Regions from separate parts of the Homo sapiens genome. Here all the other regions are linked to region 1. The links are contacts of gene promoters, found by promoter capture Hi-C in blood cells and fetal thymus (Javierre and others, 2016). All regions are on one chromosome and are shown on one strand. Each heading gives the region's core, a stretch centred on a gene start or on the middle of the fragment in contact. The rest is flanking DNA. Distances are from core to core; before and after follow the strand shown. Region 1 has its middle 14 kb from the start of OR10G7. Region 2 holds the start of OR8B12 (olfactory receptor family 8 subfamily B member 12). Region 3 holds the start of OR6X1 (olfactory receptor family 6 subfamily X member 1). Region 4 holds the start of OR8D2 (olfactory receptor family 8 subfamily D member 2).

What was found. Contacts are between HindIII fragments. The CHiCAGO score rates a contact against its expected background, and 5 or more counts as called.
Region 2: the fragment with the promoter of OR8B12 here is called in contact with a fragment that was not itself captured in region 1 in 4 of 17 cell types (total B cells, erythroblasts, naive B cells and 1 more); the score reaches 9.5 in total B cells.
Region 3: a contact is called between the fragment with the promoter of OR6X1 here and a fragment that was not itself captured in region 1, in 1 of 17 cell types (endothelial precursors). The highest score is 7.0, in endothelial precursors.
Region 4: a contact is called between the fragment with the promoter of OR8D2 here and a fragment that was not itself captured in region 1, in 1 of 17 cell types (erythroblasts). The highest score is 6.6, in erythroblasts.

What each region holds. Positions count from the first base shown.
Region 1 is chr11:124,052,435-124,058,472 of GRCh38, reverse strand. It overlaps the pseudogene OR10D5P. Among named protein-coding and RNA genes, the nearest start is that of OR10G7, 14 kb to the right of the region's middle. The HindIII fragment of the contact is 2,119 bases long and covers 2,742-4,860 here.
Region 2 is chr11:124,540,817-124,546,854 of GRCh38, reverse strand. It overlaps OR8B12 (olfactory receptor family 8 subfamily B member 12), which reads left to right and starts at 3,201. Exons shown (of 1, transcript NM_001005195.1): 1 at 3,201-4,133. The coding sequence starts at 3,201. The coding sequence ends at 4,133. The HindIII fragment of the contact is 5,500 bases long and covers 2,234-6,038 here.
Region 3 is chr11:123,752,231-123,758,268 of GRCh38, reverse strand. OR6X1 (olfactory receptor family 6 subfamily X member 1) reads left to right here and starts at 3,751. Exons shown (of 1, transcript NM_001005188.1): 1 at 3,751-4,689. The coding sequence starts at 3,751. The coding sequence ends at 4,689. The HindIII fragment of the contact is 3,762 bases long and covers 2,684-6,038 here.
Region 4 is chr11:124,316,553-124,322,590 of GRCh38, reverse strand. OR8D2 (olfactory receptor family 8 subfamily D member 2) reads left to right here and starts at 2,394. Exons shown (of 1, transcript NM_001002918.1): 1 at 2,394-3,329. The coding sequence starts at 2,394. The coding sequence ends at 3,329. LOC112268069 (a long non-coding RNA gene) reads right to left here. Exons shown (of 3, transcript XR_002957213.2): 2 at 4,185-4,265. The HindIII fragment of the contact is 6,670 bases long and covers 1-5,994 here.

The DNA.
Region 1 (6,038 bases), core at 2,552-5,051:
ATACCATTTATAAAAACTACTCAAAAAGAATCATAAAACTAAATGTAAGAACTAAACTATAAAACTCTTAAAAGAAAACATGGGCATCATGACCTTAGACTTGGCAATGATTTCTTAGATATGACACCAAAAGCACAAATAACAAAAGAAAGATAAACTGGACACCACTGAAATTTAAAGCTTTTATGCATAAAGGGTACTATCAAGAAGGTAAAAAGACCATTCACAGCATGAGAGAAAAGACTTGCAAATTATATGTCTGAAAAGGATCTGGCATCTGAGAATATATAAAGAATCATTACAATTCAACAACAAAAAGGCAAACAAACCAATTAGAAAATTGACAAATTACTTGAATAGACATTTTATTTTCTGAAGAGGACATACAGATGGCCAACAAACATGTGAAATGATGCTCAATTTCATTCATCATCGAAAAAATTCAGATCAAAACCACAATGATACACTGTATCATAGCCACTAGAATGGCTACATAAAATTTTTAAAAAGTGTTGGCCAAGATGTAGTAAAAACAGAACACTTCTACTTTGCTAGAATGTAAAATGGTGCAGCCTCTGTGGAAAATAGTTTGGAGATTCCTCAAAAGAGCAAACATAGAATTACTCTATGATCCGGAGGTCAGGAGACTGAGACCATCCTGGCTAACATGGTGAAACCCCATCTCTACTAAAAATACAAAAAAAAAAAAAAATTAGCGGGGCGTGGTGGCGGGCGCCTGTGGTCCCAGCTACTTGGCAGGCTGAGGCAGCAGAATGGCGTGAACCCGGGAGGTGGAGGTTGCAGTGAGCCGAGATTGCGCCACTGCCCTCCAGCCTGGGTGACAGAGTGAGACCCCGCCTCAAAAAAAAAAAAAAAAAAAAGAATCACTCTATGATCCAGCAATTTCATTAGTAGGTATATATCCAAAAGAACTAAAAACAGGTGTTCAAACAAAACATACACACAAGTGTTAATAGCAGTACTATTCAAAATACCCAAAGGTAGAAATAACTCAAATGTTAATCAACTGATGAATGGAAAAACAAATTGTGGTGTACCCATGCAGTGAAATATTATTTGACATAAAAAAAATGCTAGAACATAGATTAATCATGAAAATATTATACTCATTTAAATAAGCCAGTCACAAAAGACTGGCTTTGAAGGTTCATATTATATGATTCAACTTTTATGTAATGTCCAGAATAAGCAAGTCTATAGATATAAAAAGTTGATTAGTGTTTGCTTACTAAGGGTGATGTGGGAACAGGGAGGTAATGGTTAAAGGGTATAGGACATTTTCTGTGGTGATTAAAATGTTCTAAGATTGACTGTGGTAAAGGTGGTACATATGTAAATATATGAAAAACCATTGAATTGTACACTTCAAATTCACAAATTATTTGGTGTGTGATTATATCTCAAAAAAGCTATTTAAAAAATTATGGCAATTGAAAATTCTTGATACATGATTAAAACAAGAAAATATATATATGAGCTAATCACAACTATAAATCTCTCTAAAATATATACATATATAGATACATAATATAAATATAGATATAGATATAGATGACATAGATAGAAATGAAAAAAATTTAAACAAGAAGTCAGAAACCCTAATTCCAATTTAATCACTAATGAGAGAGGTAGGAAAAATGACAAAATATTAACAGTGGTTATCTCTTGGTGGTAGGATCAGTGAGTAATTTCTACTCATTTTACTTTTTTGCAGTGTCCTAGTTTTCTTTGAAGCTATTTACATGAGAAAACAATGACTATTATTTTTGAAGGCCCATAAGTTCTGGAATTCAAATTTAGTCCCTGACTGAATGAAAGCAAACTTGTAATCCTCTTACAGAATTGAAATTGTTGTTATAAAGAAATAATATGTTTACCTGAGAGACAGCCTATACTAATACATCTTTTTGGATATATGGGTACTAATTGACTTCTAAAGAGATTTTATTTTCTTTCTTTTTTTTTTATTTTTAAGACAGTGTCTCTCGTTCCATCGCCCAGGCTGGAGTGCAGTGCTGTGATCTTGGCTCACTGCAGCCTCCACCTCCCAGGTTCAGGCGATTCTCCTGCCTCAGCCTCCTGAGTAGCTGGGACTACAGGTGCCCACCACCACGCCTGGCTAATTTTGTATTATTAGTAGAGACGGGGTTTCACCATGTTGACCAGGCTGGTCTTGAACTCCTGAGCTCAAGTGATCTGCCTGCCTCAGCCTCCCAAAGTGCTGGGATTACAGGCGTAGGCCACCATACCCAGCCAGATAATTTCTTGGTATCAGACTCAGACATATGTCATCCATCAAAATATAGACTCAAAAAAAGTTATAGAAATCAATGGAGCAAATTTAATGTACTAGATTTGCTGGCAAATTGAAGAATATTCTGTGTAAACCGAAAAGAAGCTCCTGAGAGAAGTATTTATGTTACCATTTAGACACTACAGAAGCAGCATTAGCACATGGTTAAGACGCTTTGGGTCACATTTTCGCCCAGCAAGTTTTTAACTCCATGACACTGCAGAAAGATCTCAGCCTCTCAGTGCCTTAATTTTCCCTCGTAAATCGAGATAATAGTATTATCTACTTCATATGATTATTATAATCATTACATGTATCAGTATTTGTAAATAGCGCCTGGTACTCAGTCATCAAACAAAATATAGGAGCTAATTGCCCCCAGATAAATTCAAGACAAAGCTGTAAAGACAGACCAGGATATAAAGCTTACCTTCCACAATTATGTACTCCTTGAATGAGCACCTTTCTCAGTGCCAGCTTTACACCTTTGTTTCTCAAAGTATATATCAAAGGATTCAGGGAAGGGATAACAATATTATTCAACACCTGAACCACAGAGTCCAGCCAAGGGCTGGAGGCAGGTCGGAGATAAATGAGGACTATTGGTCCATAGAAGAGCAGGATGGACGTCAGATGGGCACTGCAGGTTGAGAAGGCTCTGCGCCTACCTTCTGAGGAACTGATTTTCAGTATAGAGATAACAATGCAAGCATAAGAGGTGAGGATAAGAAGAAAACACATGAGCGCAACAACACCTACGTTGATGAAACTCACTGTCCGTGCTAGAGAGGTGTCTGCGCAGGCCAGGGGCAGCACCACCGGAATATCACAGAAAAAAATTGTCCACTTCATTGGGGCCACAGTAGGATAACTTAAAGATGAGGAGTGTGAGGACAGATGCATGCAGACAGCTCCCCGTCCAGGTGCCTAGCGTCAGGAGGGCACACACCCTGCGTTTCATGATGACCGTGTATGGCAAAGGGTGGCAGATGGCTGCAAATCGGTCATAGGCCATCACAGTGTACAGGAAACACTCGGTGCAACCCAGGAAATGGTGAAAGAAGAGCTGGGAGGCACAACCCTGGAAAGAGATGGTGCAGCTTTGTCCCACTAAGCAGAGCATCATTTTGGGGGAACTCACTGAAGGGAAAAATATGTCAAACACAGACAGGTTTCCCAGGAAGAAATACATGGGGGTGTGGAGGTTGGAGAAAGTGAGGACGGCCAGAAGAATGAGTAGGTTCCCCAGCAAGGTGAAGAGGTAGAAGGCCAGAAATAAGACAAAAAGCACATTTTCCATCCCCTTTGTATGAGGGATTCCCATCAGGGGGACCTCAGTTACTGGAGTGTGATTCTTTATCTTCATGTCAAATTAGTCCTGGAACATCAAACAATGGCCTCACTGAGATGAGTTTTTCCTGCAAAAAACTCTTTATAGAGCCTATCGCAAACTGATAATAAGTATATAGAGTGGAGAACTTCTAAATAAGACTCAGTTCAATCCTGTCATTAATTATTGAGTGACATTTGGGTAAGTTATTAATCTATTTTTCATCTGTTTCCTCATAAGTAAAATGAAGAGACAACACTAGAGTTGATATAGAAGAGAAGGTGTAGAATAAACTTTACAACTGGAAGTATCTGAGTTTACATACTAAACACGCTGCCCACTCTGACATCAGATGACCTTGAAAAAAACTCTTTAAATCTTTTCTGAATATATATAAATAGTAAAATAATATATTATGGTTCCTGTGTACATTAATGCATTGATGTCTGCAAAGTACCCATATAATTTTGGCTCCTACCCATCTTTGTTAAAAAATTTATTCATCAAATTATTTAATGTGTGCCTTATTCCACAGCATTTCTCTAAGTTGACTTGTAGCAGTTCTGAGATTACCCATTCATGTGACTGATCCGGGAGGCAGCTTTCTCAATCAGCAGCTAGAGTAACTGAAAACTGAGAATTGTCTAATGGGTGTAAAACAGAAAGGAAGCCTGGGCATGGCGGCTCACACCTGTAATCCCAGCAGCTTGGGAGGCCAAGGTGGCAGGATCACTTGAGCCCAGGGATTTGAGACTAGCCTAGGCAATACAGTGACGCCTTGTCTCTTCAAAAATTTAAAAAAAAAGGAAAAGAAAAAGAAAAAACTAGCTGAGTGTGGTGGTGTATGTCTGTAGTCCCAGCTACTTGGGAGGCTGAGGTGGGGAGATCCTTTAAGCTGAAAAGGCAGAGATTGCAGTGAGCCAAAATCATGCCACTGCACTCCAGCCTGGGTGACAGAGTGAGACCCTGTCCCAAAAATAACTTAAATAAAAATAAAGAAATAAAAGAATAGAAAAGATGATATGTAGGTAGGAAAAAGCAATAGATAATTACTGATATTAAAAACAGCCATTTCTTTTAATAGAGTTTAGTGTCCAATAGCAATTATATCTGTGACTTGACTGCAAATAATCATCATTTTTCCTAGAATTAGCTTTATAATTCCCCATTATCACTTTACATCTTATTCATTTCCTAAAATTTCTAAGGTTAAGCTTCATTAATCAGGTAATAGCTCAATAAAATACCATGGAGTCAACTAAGTCAGATTTAGCCCAAAGTCAAACAGAGCCAATTCCCACGTTCTTCCCACCTTCCTCTAGTGCGTAGAACTCATCAGAAGATGAGAGGGGAGCACTCCAGAGAAAAGGCACTCACAGACTGAAGGGAAATGTGGCTGTCCTGGGCTGAAAACCAGGCCCTACGTCCACCCAGCCCTGTTTCCTTTGCTTTTAGGTGCTGTGGATCATCTGTGGCTCTGGGGCTAGAAAAGCCGAATGTTCCTCTTTTTCAGACTCAGCCACCCAGGCCAGAAAATCTCAGTGCCCCTGGCCCCTGAATGAAGTAGCAGCAATCAAGCCCTCAAGAGTGAATAAAAGTCTTCAGTTCCTTTGGGACCCTCTTCCCTAATGGGCACTAAGGAAGTGTGGAACCAAGGAAGCAATTAGACTGGAGGCGTTCCTCTCTTCCCTTCTCTTTCTCCCCACTGCATCTACCTCATTAATTCTTAGACTGAAATGCAATTATACAGTGGTATTTAGTTATATTCAGTTTAAAGCTCTTTAATTAACAATAATTCTTGGGCTGTTTTTCCTCTAGGAGCGAGCCATCCATGAAGTTCAGATGTTTGAGATTGCCCAGTGATCCTTTACCTGGAGAATCTGGGTTTGAAGAAAGAGCCAGAAATTAGGAAAGCAACCACTTAAACAGGCAACAATCCCATCTGATGCTAAAAACAAAACAAAACACAGCTGCACCTGTTTTTTTCTACAATTTGCTTTATAATCCCCCATTATCACTTCCACAACTGATTGAATTCATATTTTATTCATTTTATTTTTTTAGTCTCCTCTTAAAAAAAAAACAGGATACATGTGCAGAATGTGCAGGTTTGTTCCATAGGTATACGTGCCATGGTGGTTTGCTGCACCTATTGACCCGTCCTCTAAGTTCCCTCCCCTCACCCCCACCCCGTAACAGGCCCTGGTGTGTGTTGTTCCCCTCTGTGTCCATGTGTTTTCAATGTTCAACTCTCACTTATGAGTGAGAACATGCACATTTTCTCTTTATTTTCCTTTAAGACTGCTACTGACATTAATTTTAGCATACATTAATTACTGTAACTTGGTTGGATGTATATTTTAAGAATTCAGTCTGCTGACTGCTGTGTAGAGG
Region 2 (6,038 bases), core at 1,952-4,451, 490 kb before region 1:
ATGTTGGCCTTTGTTACAGAGTGTTAAATTTTGTTCTGGGATGTAGTTAATTTACTAGTAGTTCCCTCTGATCATGTTAAGACCTGGATTTAGCCTTTGTTATGATTCAGTTTTGCCCTTAGCACAAAGGAATAGTATTTACTCTTAGTGTATGACTTTTCAGGGGTCTCACTTAAAGCCTGGTTTGCTGACCAAGGCCTCTCCATTTTCAGTAGGTCAGAATTCTAATTTATATCAGGCACTGTGGATCCTCTGTGATCTCTGTTCAGTTCTTAGCCCCCAGCAGCTGTTGTCTCCTAAGCCGGTAGAACCTTGCCCTCCAGATATAAAATTTAGGATTCAGCCAAGAACTTAAGGGAGTCCTTTGTGCAGGTACCTGAGGGTCCTTTTTTTTTTTTTGGCTTTTTATTCTCCATTCCTTGCCCCACACATTCCAGCTGTCTTAGCCTCCTTACACTTTTTCATTCCACTAGTAGAAGCTGCTGCCATTTGTTGGGGCATCACTTTACTATGCATCGTTTAGAAACTGGCCTTAGAGAAAGTTGGGGTGAATGTGTTAGTTACCTTGTTTTTTTGCCTTTTCTCAAGAATTTCATCCCTGTGTTGTCTACTTTCCAAGTATTGCAAATAGTTGCTTTATACACTTTTTCCAGCCTTTTTTTTTCTTTCTTTTTTTTTGTGGTCAGAGGGGTAAGTGCAATAATAGCTATACCATCACACTTGAAATAAAAAGTCTCATAACTTATGTTTCCATTATTTGTGTTTTACATTCCAGCCAAAATGAAGGTCAGGTGAGTTAATGGATGAGGAGAGATTGGAAATGCGGAGACTTAGAAGAGATCTGTGACCTTGGGTGAATGGCTTTACTTCTTTGAACTTTTTAGAGGTCTTTGCCTGTAAGATGAGGGCAAATAATAGTTCTGTGAATCTATCAGTTCCTGGCATTGGAAATGCTTGGGAAGATTTTAAAAAAACACAGCCACCATATCCATATCTATGGAGATTCTGATTCCAAAGGTATGGTTGGAGCCCAGCATTTCTTTTTAATGAATATTTTAGATAATTGTGATAACCAGCTAGGTTTGGGAAACACTGGATGAGATACTCTCTCAAGTCTTTTCGGGTCTAAAATTTTATGAGTTTGTTGGTTTGATGTTAAAGAAAATAAGTAAATATCTTAGAGACAGAGACATAGGATAGACGATTTTAATCCAGGCAGAGCTTGGAGGTATGGAGTAAAAGACAGAAAAAGACAAATGCAAACCAAAGAGGAAGAACAAATGTGGATGTGTTCCTGCAGTGGGAGTCTGGTCTACTAGGACTCAGTTTGAGGGCACTGAACAGATGGAAAGTCAGTTGGGAGAAGTGCTCAAAGAAAAGTGGGTGGAAGGCAGGGACAGCCAGAGGGAATTTTGACTAGTTATTAATTTAGAGAAAGGCTGGTCTTGGTAGACATTGAGAGCAGTTACCTGATAGGGATTCTTGTTACCATTAAACATACACTCCATGAGAGGACAGGGGAGGGGAACGAGAGAAGTATGTTCTTGTCTGAGCTGGGACTAGAGTAGTGCAATTAATTCCTGAGGTGAGTGGAATATGAATAAATTATTGAATAGCCTATTCTAAATTACAATAGCCCTTTGTGTTAACCTTTCCAGGCTCTAATTGCTTCCTTTTAAAACTTAAATTCATTGAATATTTACTTGTTATTTTCCAAGAGACTGTCAGATCCAAGAAGGCAAGGGCTCTGCTTTATGGATTTCAGTAGCTGTCCTTGGGAGGTAGTTTAGTCTAGCAGCTACATAAGGGGCTTGGAGTCAGACAGACCTAAGCATACCTGTGGACTCTGAAACATCTTGTCTCTGTGAGCAACTTACCTGTAAAATAGGTATTGTGAGAAATAAATAAAGATATGTTTGTATATGTGTACTCTGGATCTTGGCAGCTGGAATAAGGGTACTATGTCAGGTACTAAATTATTGGGTATTCAAGAAATGGTAATGACAATCATTTTTTTCACAATGATTTTCTCTTAATAGTACAGGATACATGTTAGTAGAAAGCCAAATCAAGCAATTCCAAGAGATAAACAAACATTTCTTCTTCTCTAGGGAAACTAATTGCTAAGCAAGTGGTCTTGAGGGAGTCTCTATCTTAATGGCCAGATCATTGAGGTCTGTAATCCAGAATAAAACTCTTTAGTCTTTTGTTATTCACTGGTCAGGAAAAAGCTTTGTCTCCTTCCTGGAAGCTGGAGAGGCCTTTGGGCAAATGAACAATTGGAAGTCATGTCCTTCAGTGCAGGAAGTGTTATGAGATACATTAGAGGTTCTGATCCTTTGACCTGTACTGGGAAGAGAGGGCTTTGAGCTCAGATCTGTCATCTTGTCTTCACTAGGGTCATCTTCCTCCCCAGAATGTGAAAAAGAGGCAGTAGAGTATAGCATTTATGGCTCTAAAGGGAAGGAAGGTGAGTGCCTGCCCCGATGCTGGTCACTTATGTAACATGGTGATTTCAAGTGCAAGCCATTTGAGCCATACTGCCGAAATTCACCTTCTGGCTGCAGGTGGTTTGGGGACTTTTGTCTAGTTATGTCATCTTACTTGTTTCATCTGTAAAATGAAGATAATAATATTGCTACATGGCTCTTCAAACAGAACCTCTTATAGTAACCACTCAATAAGTGTCAGCTTTAAAAAATTATTAAATGTACAGCCACTTGAGCTAAGAGATCTTGGAAAAGCATGAGCTCACCTACTTAATCTGACAGTGTGGACCCAGAGGTGGAAGCTCTGAGCAGAGCCACTGTGGCTTCTGCATCTCAGGATTCCCTTCAGGGAAGAGGTCCAGGTTTTACCAAGTGAAGCAGAGACAGGAGAGGGAAAGATATAGAAAAGGGACTGACCTAAGGATCTAAAAGACATTTGGATTATTTTTGGTACCCCTTTCTTCAGCAGATCCAGCTCTCATTCTGCAGTTACAGTTGAGTCTCATATTACACTTTGGGAGTTATAATCACTCGGACTGTGAAGATAGACCCACAGTGAGTGGTAAAAACCTTCCTACCAAAGTTCAAATCTCTCTCCTTGGATTCCTTTTCTAAGAATGGGAGATAGAGACTAAGAATGTGGTGGTGATGTTTCTTTCTAAGTGGTCCTCTTCTCTTGTCCCCTCCGACTCTCCTGCCTGACCAAAAAGAATGGCAGCCAAAAACTCTTCTGTGACAGAGTTTATCCTCGAAGGCTTAACCCACCAGCCGGGACTGCGGATCCCCCTCTTCTTCCTGTTTCTGGGTTTCTACACGGTCACCGTGGTGGGGAACCTGGGCTTGATAACCCTGATTGGGCTGAACTCTCACCTGCACACTCCCATGTACTTCTTCCTTTTTAACCTCTCTTTAATAGATTTCTGTTTCTCCACTACCATCACTCCCAAAATGCTGATGAGTTTTGTCTCAAGGAAGAACATCATTTCCTTCACAGGGTGTATGACTCAGCTCTTCTTCTTCTGCTTCTTTGTCGTCTCTGAGTCCTTCATCCTGTCAGCGATGGCGTATGACCGCTACGTGGCCATCTGTAACCCACTGTTGTACACAGTCACCATGTCTTGCCAGGTGTGTTTGCTCCTTTTGTTGGGTGCCTATGGGATGGGGTTTGCTGGGGCCATGGCCCACACAGGAAGCATAATGAACCTGACCTTCTGTGCTGACAACCTTGTCAATCATTTCATGTGTGACATCCTTCCTCTCCTTGAGCTCTCCTGCAACAGCTCTTACATGAATGAGCTGGTGGTCTTTATTGTGGTGGCTGTTGACGTTGGAATGCCCATTGTCACTGTCTTTATTTCTTATGCCCTCATCCTCTCCAGCATTCTACACAACAGTTCTACAGAAGGCAGGTCCAAAGCCTTTAGTACTTGCAGTTCCCACATAATTGTAGTTTCTCTTTTCTTTGGTTCTGGTGCTTTCATGTATCTCAAACCCCTTTCCATCCTGCCCCTCGAGCAAGGGAAAGTGTCCTCCCTGTTCTATACCATAATAGTCCCCGTGTTAAACCCATTAATCTATAGCTTGAGGAACAAGGATGTCAAAGTTGCCCTGAGGAGAACTTTGGGCAGAAAAATCTTTTCTTAAGAAAGGATTAGTATTGGAGGAAGGAGATACAATGCTTTGCTTATTAGTGTGTGTTTTCAGTGAGATTCAAGTTCCATTTTTTTCCTGTCTTGTACAGAAAAAGAATTTTAAATCTTTACATTTGGATGAGTGTTAAGTGCAGACATATTCTCCCTGTCTCTGCTTCACCTAGTTATTCCAGGATTTCTTCATTTTATGCAAATTTTTCTATAATCATAGACCATTTAATCGTGAATTGGCCTTACACATTATTTAATCTAGTCTCTTCAATTAACATGTGTTGGAGACTCAGAAATACATATGTTGCTCAAGGACACACAACTACTTGGTGCCACAACTGGGAATGGAATCCAGGTCCTTGAATTCCAGGCTGCTTTTTTTTTCTTTATGTCATTTTTTCATGCTTCATTGCTGCCCTTGCAGATATCCTTTTAAAAGTAAGAAAACTTAACACATTAAAACCTAATTCTATTCATAGTAATTTAATGTGACCTCTCAATAAATAATTTTTAAATATTTCATTTTTTTTCAAGAGGATAGAAGATGAAACATTTTCTTAAGTTGGTCTTCACCAAATGAGAAGAGAATTGTGTCAAGTTTGTAGAATGTGACTGACATTGAGTTAAGATTGAGGTTGTGTGGAACCCTAGGAACCCAGTCTAGGGAATTAGGACTTCCATAGGATTAAGGGTTATAAAGATGCTGAGTAGAAATCATACATTCATTTGAAAACTTAAAGAATCAGAATGTAGAGCTTTTTCAAGGGTTAGTTTGGGTGTTTGAGCTGTGATGGAGAAATATGTGGCTTAGGATAATCAACTAAGGGTCTGGAAGTTTTCGAGGCGAAGTAAATAATGTTGAGAATCTAGTTAGTTATTAAAACAGCACTAAGCAGCTGATTATTAAAAGAGGCAATTTCCATTGAATTTTAAGGTACTGCAGACTGCACTCATATAAACATATGTGGTAAAAGATAATTCATCCAAGACTGGGTTGTAAACCCACAACATATAATGATAGTTATAGAACACGCCAGATCAATACACTTTGATCTAAATAATTTATTAGTAGCAAAGGAAGGTTCTTTGGATTAGCATTAACCATGTTAAGTGCTGGGGAGACACTTTGATTTCTGAGCTTTTCCTTGGGAATATTCTTTGGGAAAAAGGGAAGTTTAGATGAGGGTGTAGTTTTGTTCTTTGGTATGACACGAAGGGCTTGAAGTCATAAGACTGAGAGTGTGTGTGTGTGTACGTGTGTGTGTGTGTGTGGTGGGAAAGATTTTTCTTTAGTCAGCGTGGAATAGGAAAGAGAAGTGAGTTCAGGAGACTTGTGGGTGGGCGTCTGGTGGGTGAGGTGAATAGGCTATTTGAGGTAGAGAGCAGATGAAAACAGCGATTCGTGAGGCACATGATGAAGTTGGTTTTGTATCCTGGCTCAGTTGCTTAGTAATTTTGTGACTTTGGGCAAATTACTTAATGTCTCTAAATATTAATTTTTTTATTTTTGAAAGTGATGTAATGATTCTGACTTCGTGGGGTCTTTGAAGAATTAAATGCAGGGCACTTACTACATTTTAGTTATCACCCTGCAATAATTCTTTTATGTAATTATCAGCACTTCCTTGAGTTTTTCCATGAGCTGAGACAAGTCACTTCATCTTCCTGGAACTCTGCTTAGTCATGAGAAAAATGAACTCTAAGTATCATTTAAAAAGTCATATATTTTGACTAAGTAATATTTGCGTATGGTACAGCACTAAACAATATAAATGGGGGTTATACAGTGAAAATATGTCTTCCTCCTATCTTATCATTCCATTCCTAAAATCTCCTTCCTAAAAACAACAGTTGTTGCTGATTTCCTATGAATCTTCTCATATTCGAGCATATCTATCTATGTATC
Region 3 (6,038 bases), core at 2,502-5,001, 300 kb after region 1:
GAAAACTTGGAGACAAATTATTTAGCAAAGAGTCCCTGTTATGATATGACTTGAGCACTTGAAATACAGGAAACGGTGACATGTATAAACATGTGCATGTGTCAGTTTCCATAAACTTCTAGGTAACTGGGGACAGAGTGTCAACAAGCTATCCATTTATATAATCATTTAGAAACTATGTTTTGAGAGCTTATTTTGTGTCAAGCTCTATGCTTCGGCCCTGCAGACACTGTTGCTGCCTGCAAGGGGCTTAGAGTCTATAGCAGACACCAAGCAAACAATAAACACAATTCTGCAAAGTGTTCAGGTATAGATATGCACAGGGCATTAGAAAAGTGTGTAGGAGCAGCACCTTAACTGGACTAGAGGTGGCAAGTTAAGGAAGGCTTCCCATGGAGGTGGCTCCTAAACTTAAATCTAGAATTCAGACAAGACTTAGCCAAATAATGGAGAAAGTCGGGAAGGGTATTTCTGGTGAAGAGAACAGCAGGTGCAATGACTGGGAGGCAAGAAAGAAGATGGCATAATTGGGGAACTAGAGCAGGAGTCAGCCAGCTGTTTCTGTAAAGGGCCAGATAGCAAACCTTTTAGACTTTGGGGGTCATATGGTCTCTGTCACAATTACCAAACTTCACCATGATAGCACAAAAGCAGCCACAGGCAATAGGTAAACAGATGAGTGTGGCTATGTTTTAGTGAAACTTTACAAAAACAGGGCCATAGTTTGCTAACCTCTAAACCTGAGTAATTCAGTAAGTGTGGAGCATAGAAGAAGGCAGAAGGAAAAATGGCAAATGGCAGAAAATCATGCTGGAAAGGTAGGTAAGACCAGATCATCGGTGGTCTTAAATGTCATGCTGAGGAGTCTGGGATGTTAACTTCAAGATTCTGAGGAGTGGCGTAGTCAGAATTCGAATGGTCCCCCTTGCTACAGTTTGAACCATCGGTAGGAAAGAGCACAGCAAGTCAGGAGACAGGGAGTCCTGTTAGGAGGCTGTGTTCGAATCCTGATGGGAGATGACAGCATGATTTACCGGAGCCAGGGAGAGACGGAAAGGACACACACTAGAGAGTGAGTAAGAAGTAAAGTTAACAGGATCTGGTGACTTGGACCCTGGTGGATATGGAGGAATCCATTTGACCCTATACATTGTGACTTTTTAAAAGGAAGAAGAAGTCTAGAGTGTAGGATTGAATTGTAATAGGCATATAGACTGCAGTGTTTAATCCAGCATCTTAGCTCTATAACTTTAGGTTCCTTGGGTTGCTTTCCTGTGTTTCTCTGAACATTGCTTTTACCTGCTAACTTGAGACATCCCCACCTCCCTCTGCATCTCACAAAACTTCTCATGTGCTCAAAACCCAGTCCGTGCAGCTGTCAGGACAGCTACTGCCTGATTCCTCATTTCTGCCACTTCTACTTGCTCAGCATTCCTTCTGCTGTGGACCAGCCCCCTCAGCAGGCACTGCCACTTCTGCTGGTATCATTTCTGCTGCCACTGCTGCTGCTACTCCTGGGCCCTCATGCTACCAAACCAAGCCATGTTCCTGACAAAAGCAGAGAGAGTATGTCTGTCCCCTGTATGTGTCCCACATGGTCACCTGGATACCACGGCAGTACTGTCTGTGACCAGAATCTCAAAAGAGGTCATTCACATACCACCTGCAGCCCCTTCCTCCATGAAGCTTAGATCCACATGTACATGTGTTACAGAGAATGGCTGACACCATACTTCACACACACACACACACACACACACACACACACACACTTGCAAACTCCGTGACTCAAGATTCTGTCCTCCAAAAGCTTCATGAATCTCTCGTGTAAACTGTTCTAACTGTTAATTTACCATAAGTGCCAGGACAAGCCTGACTCCCAGCTCCAGCTCAAGTGAAATTCTCTGCTCTGGTTCTATTTCACAAAAACTGAATCCTTGTCTGGAATGCATTCCCCCTCTCTCCTTACTTCACTTTCATTTCCTTTTGAACTCTAGGACTCAGCTTAGGCCTCTCCTTCTTTAGAAAAACTTCCTTAACCCCTGCTAAAGATGGGCGAAGAGCCCCTTCTAAGTGTTTCTAAAACAATCTGTGCACAGCTCTACACTTTCCCTCACTGAGTCATGTTGCAATTATTATACTATATATAGTATCCACCTATCTATCTATCTATCTATCTATCTATCTATCTATCTATCTATCTATCTATCTATCCACCTATCTATCTATCTATCTGATAAGCTCTTTAATTGCCTGGCAGTACTTGAAGCATAGTAAGCTCTCAACAAATGCTTGTGGAATTCATAGGTCTAATTCTCCAAATGGTAGAATGTGTAGCCCTTGGAAATGTTATATTGAGCTATAGAGATTGCCACTCTTCTCTGCATGGGGAATGAAGATAATTCCATATCTATCCTATATAAAGAGATCACGTTCGTGGCCAGTTATATTGGCCATTAGTGCAAATTCAAATACTTCTCTGTCTCTCATCGTTTTGTGGAAAGGCACTAGAGCTTGTGACATTGTAGACAAAGAATCTTTTCCTGGTCTAGAAAAGAGGTGGGAGAAAATGGAAGTGTTTTTCTTCCCTAAGCAAGCCCTCAGAGAATTACAGTTATCTCACATGAGGGAAGAATGAAACAACCTATCAATGACCTGTAAGTTGCCTCTTTCATGCTAAGCTTCTTATGTACTTTGAAAAATGTGAAATTCATTTCACAGTAATTTGTCTCACCCATTTCAAAGGAAACCCACATGGAAGAATAGCCTCAATAAGAAAGGAAGTAGTTTTACTATTTTCTACTGAATTTTGGTAGAACAGAAAGGATGTTCTCAGCCCATGAATTTGCATATACAAATAGAAATACTTTACTTGGTATAAAAAGACATTTAGTCACAAAAAAAATTTTGACAAAAATGTACTTTTCAGAGTTCCCATTTTGTTATCCTTAGCATTTGCTAACCTTTCACTTTTGTAGATTAGTGTCTGCAGATCTTTATCCCATGTACATTTATTAGGTGCTTCCATATAACAGGCTTTGACTCAGCTTGTTCTGAAATTTTGAATTTGAGTTGAATATTTCTCTACTTCCTAAACAGTTTTATTCATTTAGTTTTAAATGTTATTTTTGATACCTTTAGCAAAGGAGTCTGAACTAGAATGTGGAAGTGGATTCTTCAGAAAAACACCTCTTCTGTTATCTAACTTTATCTCACCACTAATATAATAGCAATGATTTGGGGTTATTTTAAGACACACACTCACACCCACACACAATAATGGCTTCCTTAAACGTATCTGTAATGTAATCAGTAACTTCTTTTTCAGACTCTGAGAATAGGGATTAATTTCTTATGAACTCACAGCCACGTTTACGTACATAAGTTGGTATACACACTATGCATTGAAAATAGTTATATGAATAATTGACAAGAAGCAACCACATTTCACATGATTATTCTCATAGTTGTATAAGGGTGAAAAAACACTTTGCATTCATCAAGTGTTTTTAATACATTCAAAGTCCATTAGAAGCTGGTTTTGCTGACAAAAGAACCAGCCAAATCATCAGTAAAGAAGGGGTGGCCAGTGCGTATTTGTATGTGGGTGAGGGAGGACCTGAAATAGAGTCAGGTCCCGAAGGACCTTACATAGTCAGAATCCTCCTTATTTTTTGTCCCAACTATAATCAACTGTGCTCTAAGATTCTAAGGAGCTTTCTTGCTTGTCTTTCTAGGGTATCAAGGGACATGAGAAATGGCACAGTAATCACAGAATTCATCCTGCTAGGCTTTCCTGTTATCCAAGGCCTACAAACACCTCTCTTTATTGCAATCTTTCTCACCTACATATTAACCCTTGCAGGCAATGGGCTTATTATTGCCACTGTGTGGGCTGAGCCCAGGCTACAAATTCCAATGTACTTCTTCCTTTGTAACTTGTCTTTCTTAGAAATCTGGTACACCACCACAGTCATCCCCAAACTGCTAGGAACCTTTGTAGTGGCAAGAACAGTAATCTGCATGTCCTGCTGCCTGCTGCAGGCCTTCTTCCACTTCTTCGTGGGCACCACCGAGTTCTTGATCCTCACTATCATGTCTTTTGACCGCTACCTCACCATCTGCAATCCCCTTCACCACCCCACCATCATGACCAGCAAACTCTGCCTGCAGCTGGCCCTGAGCTCCTGGGTGGTGGGCTTCACCATTGTCTTTTGTCAGACGATGCTGCTCATCCAGTTGCCATTCTGTGGCAATAATGTTATCAGTCATTTCTACTGTGATGTTGGGCCCAGTTTGAAAGCCGCCTGCATAGACACCAGCATTTTGGAACTCCTGGGCGTCATAGCAACCATCCTTGTGATCCCAGGGTCACTTCTCTTTAATATGATTTCTTATATCTACATTCTGTCCGCAATCCTACGAATTCCTTCAGCCACTGGCCACCAAAAGACTTTCTCTACCTGTGCCTCGCACCTGACAGTTGTCTCCCTGCTCTACGGGGCTGTTCTGTTCATGTACCTAAGACCCACAGCACACTCCTCCTTTAAGATTAATAAGGTGGTGTCTGTGCTAAATACTATCCTCACCCCCCTTCTGAATCCCTTTATTTATACTATTAGAAACAAGGAGGTGAAGGGAGCCTTAAGAAAGGCAATGACTTGCCCAAAGACTGGTCATGCAAAGTAAAACATGCAACACATCAAAGTGAGCTTAATGCAGATAAAAACAATGAAAGTTGAGAGAGGATTTTGGAGAAGTTTGGTAAAACAGGCTCCCCCCAAATCCCAGAAGTTCTGATTCAATGCTATAGTAAGATAAAGATGCAAAAGCAAACCATGATGGTTAAGGTCTCCCATGAGAACTTGTTACATGTAAATGAACTAGGAGTTTTTCTTGAGAAGAAACAATGTAATTCTTCAACAAGGAAGTCCCAGTATATCCTCAGATGCATGAAGTAGAACTCTGGACTTGTCAACTGCAAACTGAAAGTAGAAACCACTAAGGTCAGAGACAAATGTCAACAACTTTAAAAATGTATAAGGAATCCTGTCTCCCTCTTTATTTATGACCACCATCTTTTTTTTTATGACCACCCTCTTTGCCTCATCTTCTTGTCAAAAACATAAAACATTCCACATCTCATTTTCTTAGTTCCTATCATCTTTATCATGAGAGAAGCACGCTACAGACTTCTAATAATTCTAATGGTCCTTCCAAAATATTTGAAATGAATCAGCTTTTTGTTTGATAATATCTCAATAAGGGGACTTCCATCTTGAAATAATACAAATTTTTAGATAAACTTAGAGGTGTTCATCCTCAGATAATACCAAAACTTGAGAACATCTTGTAAAAAATTTCCATTTGCAGTTCATGGATTACAGCAGTTTCTGGGCTCCAATATAAGTAGACCATGTACCTAGGAAGCTAGGAAAAGTCTCAGAGCCAATATATCTAGAAACACTTTCCTACTGGAAAATGCAGCCCCAAGGTTACATGAAGTTCAGGGCTCACATGTAGGATTGTCACCAAAACCCCCAGGGTTCAGTCAGGTCCTGGTGTTTGCTGCACAGAACATCAATCACTGAGTCACTGAGCATTGCCAGGGAAGAAGGCTTTAACTGAATGCTGCAGCCAAGAAAAATGGGAGGTAGAGTCTCAAATCCATCTCCCCAACCAACTAAATTTGGGAGGTTTATATATAGTGGAAGGGAGGGAGAATAGGAGTTAGAGAGGGGTAAGGAAGAAGAGCTGGTAAGGTGAGAAAATAGGAATTAGGGAGGGGTAAGGAAGCCATCATGATGAATGAGGGGCCTGGCATCTTGTTGTCCGGATTGGTGATCTAGTGGGTTTCAGTCTCTTGCCTGAGGGTCAGTTTCCTGAGGAAGGAACTCAGTTAAGACAAATGTAAGTTTCAGGTTTTAAGACAGAGTGTCAATTTCTGTGTTCATTTAAAAATCCATAAATATCTTTTGTGTGGAACAATTGGGCTGGTTTCAGGGTTAGTGTGCAAAGTCCCTCAAAGTAGGCTACAA
Region 4 (6,038 bases), core at 1,145-3,644, 270 kb before region 1:
AACTTTGATTACAGCTATACTCAAGTGAACAGTAAACTAATCCATGAACAAGATTGAGAATAAGGCCTCAGTATGTGGGAACAACTTCCTAGTACAGATGGCTCACAGAAAGGAGAATCGGCAGAGGTAGGGTAACACTTTTAAAAAACTTAGAGTAATTCAGATCATAGCAAGGAAGAGATGATTGTCTTTACCACACCAGATGATAAATGTAGTCATTACTCTTGATGTCTGTGGGAGAAGAAAGTATAAATACAATCTCATGGTATAAATTTGTAGAGGGAGAGCATCAGGACAAACAGCTAATGCATTTGGGGCTTAAAACCTAATGCATTTGGGGTGCAGCAAACCACCATGGCACATGCATACCTATGTAGCAAACCTGCACGTTCTGCACATGTACACCAGAATTTAAAGTAAAAAAAGTAGTATGTTATATATCATTATGCTTAGCTTAATGAGTAATAAAGAGGGTAAAGTTCTCATTCCATAGCACGTAATTTTAAATTCTTAACCTTTCTACTTTATTGAGATAGTCTTTTCTAAAAGAAATACTCTAGGCATTATTTGTGATAGTTCTGTGATGAAAATAATTTGGGAATATATCAATATAGAAATGTTACGGATATAGGAAAGAATGTGCTTCAATCACTAGACCTATTATTAAGCAGCCTCCCTTGGGTGGCAATGCGGCTGTTAGGCAGGATTCATATCCAACACAGGGTCCATGCATGCACATCAGCCAATAGTAAGGGAGGGTTCCACAAGCCTGGCATGGGAACTAGGCAGGGAAGAGAAGGGGACTTAAGGCAGAAGCAGGAACCTGGACAAAGGAAAAGGCAGAGGCTCACGACAGAGGTGGGAACTTCAAGAAAGTGTCGGACATCATCTCAAAAACCCAGTGCAGAACTCTCAAGCTGCTGCTGGCTCACTCCCCTTCAGCAGCCAGCTCTGTCTCACCTTTCCAGAGTGTACTGTCTCTCTCTAAATAAGCTCTCTGCTATTTTTCTTCAACAAATTCTCTTTTTGGCTAATTCAGTCATTTGGTAGAATATTTTTCCAAGTAAGGCTAAAAATCTAGAATTCCTGAACTTCCCGTAACAGGGCTTGTTAGAGTTGCATTCTGGTAACTCTGATTCTCTTTCTCTTAGAGTATTCTCTAATTCCCCTAATTCAGAAACATGGCTGTCTTCTCAAGTGCTCTTGGAGATAACACCCCACCTGTCAGCTTTTAAATCGATATACATATTGAGTACCCTTAAAACACTGTAGAAGCAAATTTTTATAAATTTTTGTTTGTGATCATAAAAATATGTTTTTATGCAAAATAAAAGCAAACAACATCTCACTCTATGTATGGAGTTTTTCCTCCCTTGACATTTTTTCTCACTTTGGAAAAAAATTATGAAACCTGATGTCTTAGGTAATATACAGTGTTTCAGCTGAAAGCAACACACCCTGAATCCTTTGCTTAAACTTTAGGGGAAACGAAGTCAGGGAATAAGAAATCTCCAGTTCAGATCTCACAGCTTTGAAAGAGAAAGGTCAGTGAGAGTTTGGCCATGAATAATGGATAGCAGGAAAGGGCCAAGGAGGGAAGCGCTGAGTTGCTGATGGTTCAGGTCTTACACCTGAAAGTCAGCCTTACTTCTTTGCTTCTTTGCTGTTTCTGGAACAGGAAAGATCTAAACTAGAATCTCAGGATAGCCCTTGGCACAACATTTCTGTCAACCACATCCACACTGAGTACAAGAATCTCCTGGCCCACTCAAGTTTTCCATTCAAAGAACAGAAGTGAGCTAATGAGGGTCAGAATTGATTAGAACCATTTCCATACTTTTTTTTTTTGTACTAAGGTCTCTTTATAGACGTCTTTTATGTTTCTTATTTCCTAGTTTTAGCAAATGCTAATTATGTTGATTCATGTTGATGGGTAAGGAAACTGAAATGGACTACTTTTATATCATCAGAGCTGGATTAGAAGCCATGTTGTAACAAAGTCTGAAGGTTCTATTGGCATATGCTCAGATAAAGAAGGTAAGCAGTGTTGTTTTAATGGTAGCAATGACAAACTAATTAGATTTGGAAAGTTTGTGCTTCCTCCAGCAGTGAGGTAATTATGGGCATAAGCCTGGAAACAAAATGGGAGGACTCTTACTAAAAGAGGAGCATTCAACAGGGTTTTGGGTGAAATCAAGGTTCTTGGTTATACTCATAATATTTGCCCTTGATCTTGTAAGAGGTCCCTGAAAAGAGGCAATCATGGGACAGATGAGGCTCTCAGGAATGGAAGCAACCAACATGGGGCATGTCATTCTGCTTTGGGAATCAGAAAATAAATCTAATGTCTCTCTTTTCTCTTATTTCTTATTACACATAATACCTTAAAAGACATGGCTACTTCAAACCATTCTTCAGGGGCTGAGTTTATCCTGGCAGGCTTGACACAACGCCCAGAACTTCAACTGCCACTCTTCCTCCTGTTCCTTGGAATATATGTGGTCACAGTGGTGGGGAACCTGGGCATGATCTTCTTAATTGCTCTCAGTTCTCAACTTTACCCTCCAGTGTATTATTTTCTCAGTCATTTGTCTTTCATTGATCTCTGCTACTCCTCTGTCATTACCCCTAAGATGCTGGTGAACTTTGTTCCAGAGGAGAACATTATCTCCTTTCTGGAATGCATTACTCAACTTTATTTCTTCCTTATTTTTGTAATTGCAGAAGGCTACCTTCTGACAGCCATGGAATATGACCGTTATGTTGCTATCTGTCGCCCACTGCTTTACAATATTGTCATGTCCCACAGGGTCTGTTCCATAATGATGGCTGTGGTATACTCACTGGGTTTTCTGTGGGCCACAGTCCATACTACCCGCATGTCAGTGTTGTCATTCTGTAGGTCTCATACGGTCAGTCATTATTTTTGTGATATTCTCCCCTTATTGACTCTGTCTTGCTCCAGCACCCACATCAATGAGATTCTGCTGTTCATTATTGGAGGAGTTAATACCTTAGCAACTACACTGGCGGTCCTTATCTCTTATGCTTTCATTTTCTCTAGTATCCTTGGTATTCATTCCACTGAGGGGCAATCCAAAGCCTTTGGCACTTGTAGCTCCCATCTCTTGGCTGTGGGCATCTTTTTTGGGTCTATAACATTCATGTATTTCAAGCCCCCTTCCAGCACTACTATGGAAAAAGAGAAGGTGTCTTCTGTGTTCTACATCACAATAATCCCCATGCTGAATCCTCTAATCTATAGCCTGAGGAACAAGGATGTGAAAAATGCACTGAAGAAGATGACTAGGGGAAGGCAGTCATCCTGACAAAGAGGGTTCTCATTGGCAGCCAGAAAAAATAAACCATATAAAAAGTTGTTATAGGATCTTTGTAAGTTTCTGTCTCTCTCGGAGAGAGAAAAATTATCATCACTTAAAAATGTATATTTTATATTAGAGAATGATTAAGACATTTTTGGAGATTATGAAACAAAATTTTCTGATGGTCAATATAATCTTCGAAAATGTATTAGAGAAATGGGAGATGACAGAAGAGGAAGGGCAAATAAACATTAAAAACAATTTATTGAACATATTACTTTTGAAAGCCCAGGCTGGTCTTGAACTTCTGGCCTCAAGTAATCCTCCAAACTTGGCCTCCCAATGTGCTGGAATTAGAAGCCTGAGTCACGATCCTCAGCCTTGAAATAGTTGATTTAATGGATGACAGAGCATGATTCACAAAGACTTTTAAAGGCTGGAGTGATAGTCGCATTTAATGAGATTTTAAAAATGTACATGGGTAATATAAGATTCTATACTTCTATAAAAATGGAGAGAGTGGGAAAAACTTTATTTAACTCCAGAGAATTAAGGATTTTTGACAATATAAGTAAAAAGCATAACTACCTAGAAAGTTACTGTTACCTTGTCTGCATTAGCTACATTTTAGTATTTAGAATGAGGAACATTCTAGTTATCACTTGCACAACAGCAATTAGACTGTGTCCACTTGAAAGTAATTTACTTTGTTGATATTACTATTTAAGAGGCCACTGGCATTCTGAAATATATTCTGAGACGCATGGCCATGATGAAGCAACTTGAAATCACACATTCATTGATTTGTTTATTCTTTGGGTCATTCATTTAAGGAATACTCATTGAATGCCCACTACATACCTGTCACTATTCCTCATACTGGTGATAAAGAGATGAACAAAAGTCACAAACTCCTTGCCTTCATTAGATTTAGGTTTTAGCCTGAAAGAAAGGCAATAAACAGGGAGAAAAATACATCATAGAATCTCAGATCATAAAATGTCTTAGAAAATAAAGCCAAGAGGATAGAAATTGCTCACAGATATTAGAGGATAATTAAGTTACACATAGGAGTTACACACAGAAGGGCTGTAGGCTAGTTATTGAGGTTTTAGTAGTTCTTGCCACAGAGCACAAGTAGGCTAAAGAAGACTCTTCCAAAAATCAGAACTATCAAAAAATAATTAGCTATCTTGGGAATTTATGAACTATCCAGCAGTAGGGATTTAAGTACATATTCCAGACAGAATATTCAACCATTCTGTCTGGAATATTTCTGAGAAGAATCAAATGCTGGCTAAGAATATGACCAAACTGATCCCTTTGTTCATTGCTAACACTGAGGTTTTATGATCCATTCATTTCATCACCTTCTGATACTTTCTATTCCATCTCTTTTTATCCTTTCCACTATCTGAACATGCCTACTCCCCCTTTCCTATAATCTCTTTTATTCCCTTTCTCTTTTTCTTCCACTTTACAAGTTCCCATAAATCAGAACTAATTGTTTGGAAGTCCTAACTAGAGCAATCAGACAAGAGAAAGAAAGGGCATCCAAATTAGAAAGGAAGAAGTCAAGTTATCGTTGCTTGCAGATGACATGATCTTATGTTTAGAAAAGCCTAAAGATGCCACCAAAAAAAACTATTAGAACTGATTTGGAAAAGTTCAAATTCAATTTGAACTTTTTTTCTGGACTTTTTGAACTTTTCAGAGAAGTTCAAATTGTTCAGAAAAGTTTAAATTCATTTTGTACTACTGAACAAACTCAGTAAAGTTGCAAGATATAAAGTTGACATACAAAATCAGTAGCATTTCTACATGCCAACAGTGAGCAATCTGAAAAAGAAATTTAAGAAGTAATCCTATTTACAATACCTACAACTCAAATAAAATACCTAGAAATTAACCAAAGAAGTGAAATATCTCTACAATGAAAATTATAAAACATCGATGAAAGAAAGAGAACACACACACACACACACACACACACACACACACACACACACAAATAAAAAGTTATTCCAAGTTCACGGACTGGAAAAATCAATATTGTTAAAATGTTCATACTACCCATTGCACTCAATCTACCAATTCAGTGCAATCCCTATCAAAATATCACTGGCATTTTTTCACAGAAATGAAACAACAATCCTAAAATGTATGTGGAACCACAAAAGATATAGAATAGCCAAAGCTATCCTGAGCAGAACAAAACTAGAGGAACCACATTACCTCCCAAACTGGAGGAATCAAATTATACAACAAGCTATAGTAATCAAAAGAGCATGGTACTTGTATAAAAGCAGACACAAAGACCAATGGAACAGAATAGAGAACTCAGAAACAAATCCATACATATTCTCATTTTTGACAAAAGAGCCAACATACATTGGGGAAAGGATTGTCTGTTCAATACTTGATGCTGGAAAACTGAATATCCATACGCAAAAGAATGAAACTTGACCCCTGTCTCTCACCATATACAAAAATAAAATCAAAATGGACTAAAGACTTAAATACAAGACCTTAAACTATGAAACTACTAAAAGAAAACATTGGGGAAATTCTCAGAACATTGGAGTGGGCAAATAGTTCTTGAGGGATACTCCATAAGCACAGACAACCAAAGCAAAAATGGACAAACGGGATTACATCATATTAAAAAGCTTCTGCACAGCAAAGGAAACAATCAACAAAAGTGAAGAGATAACC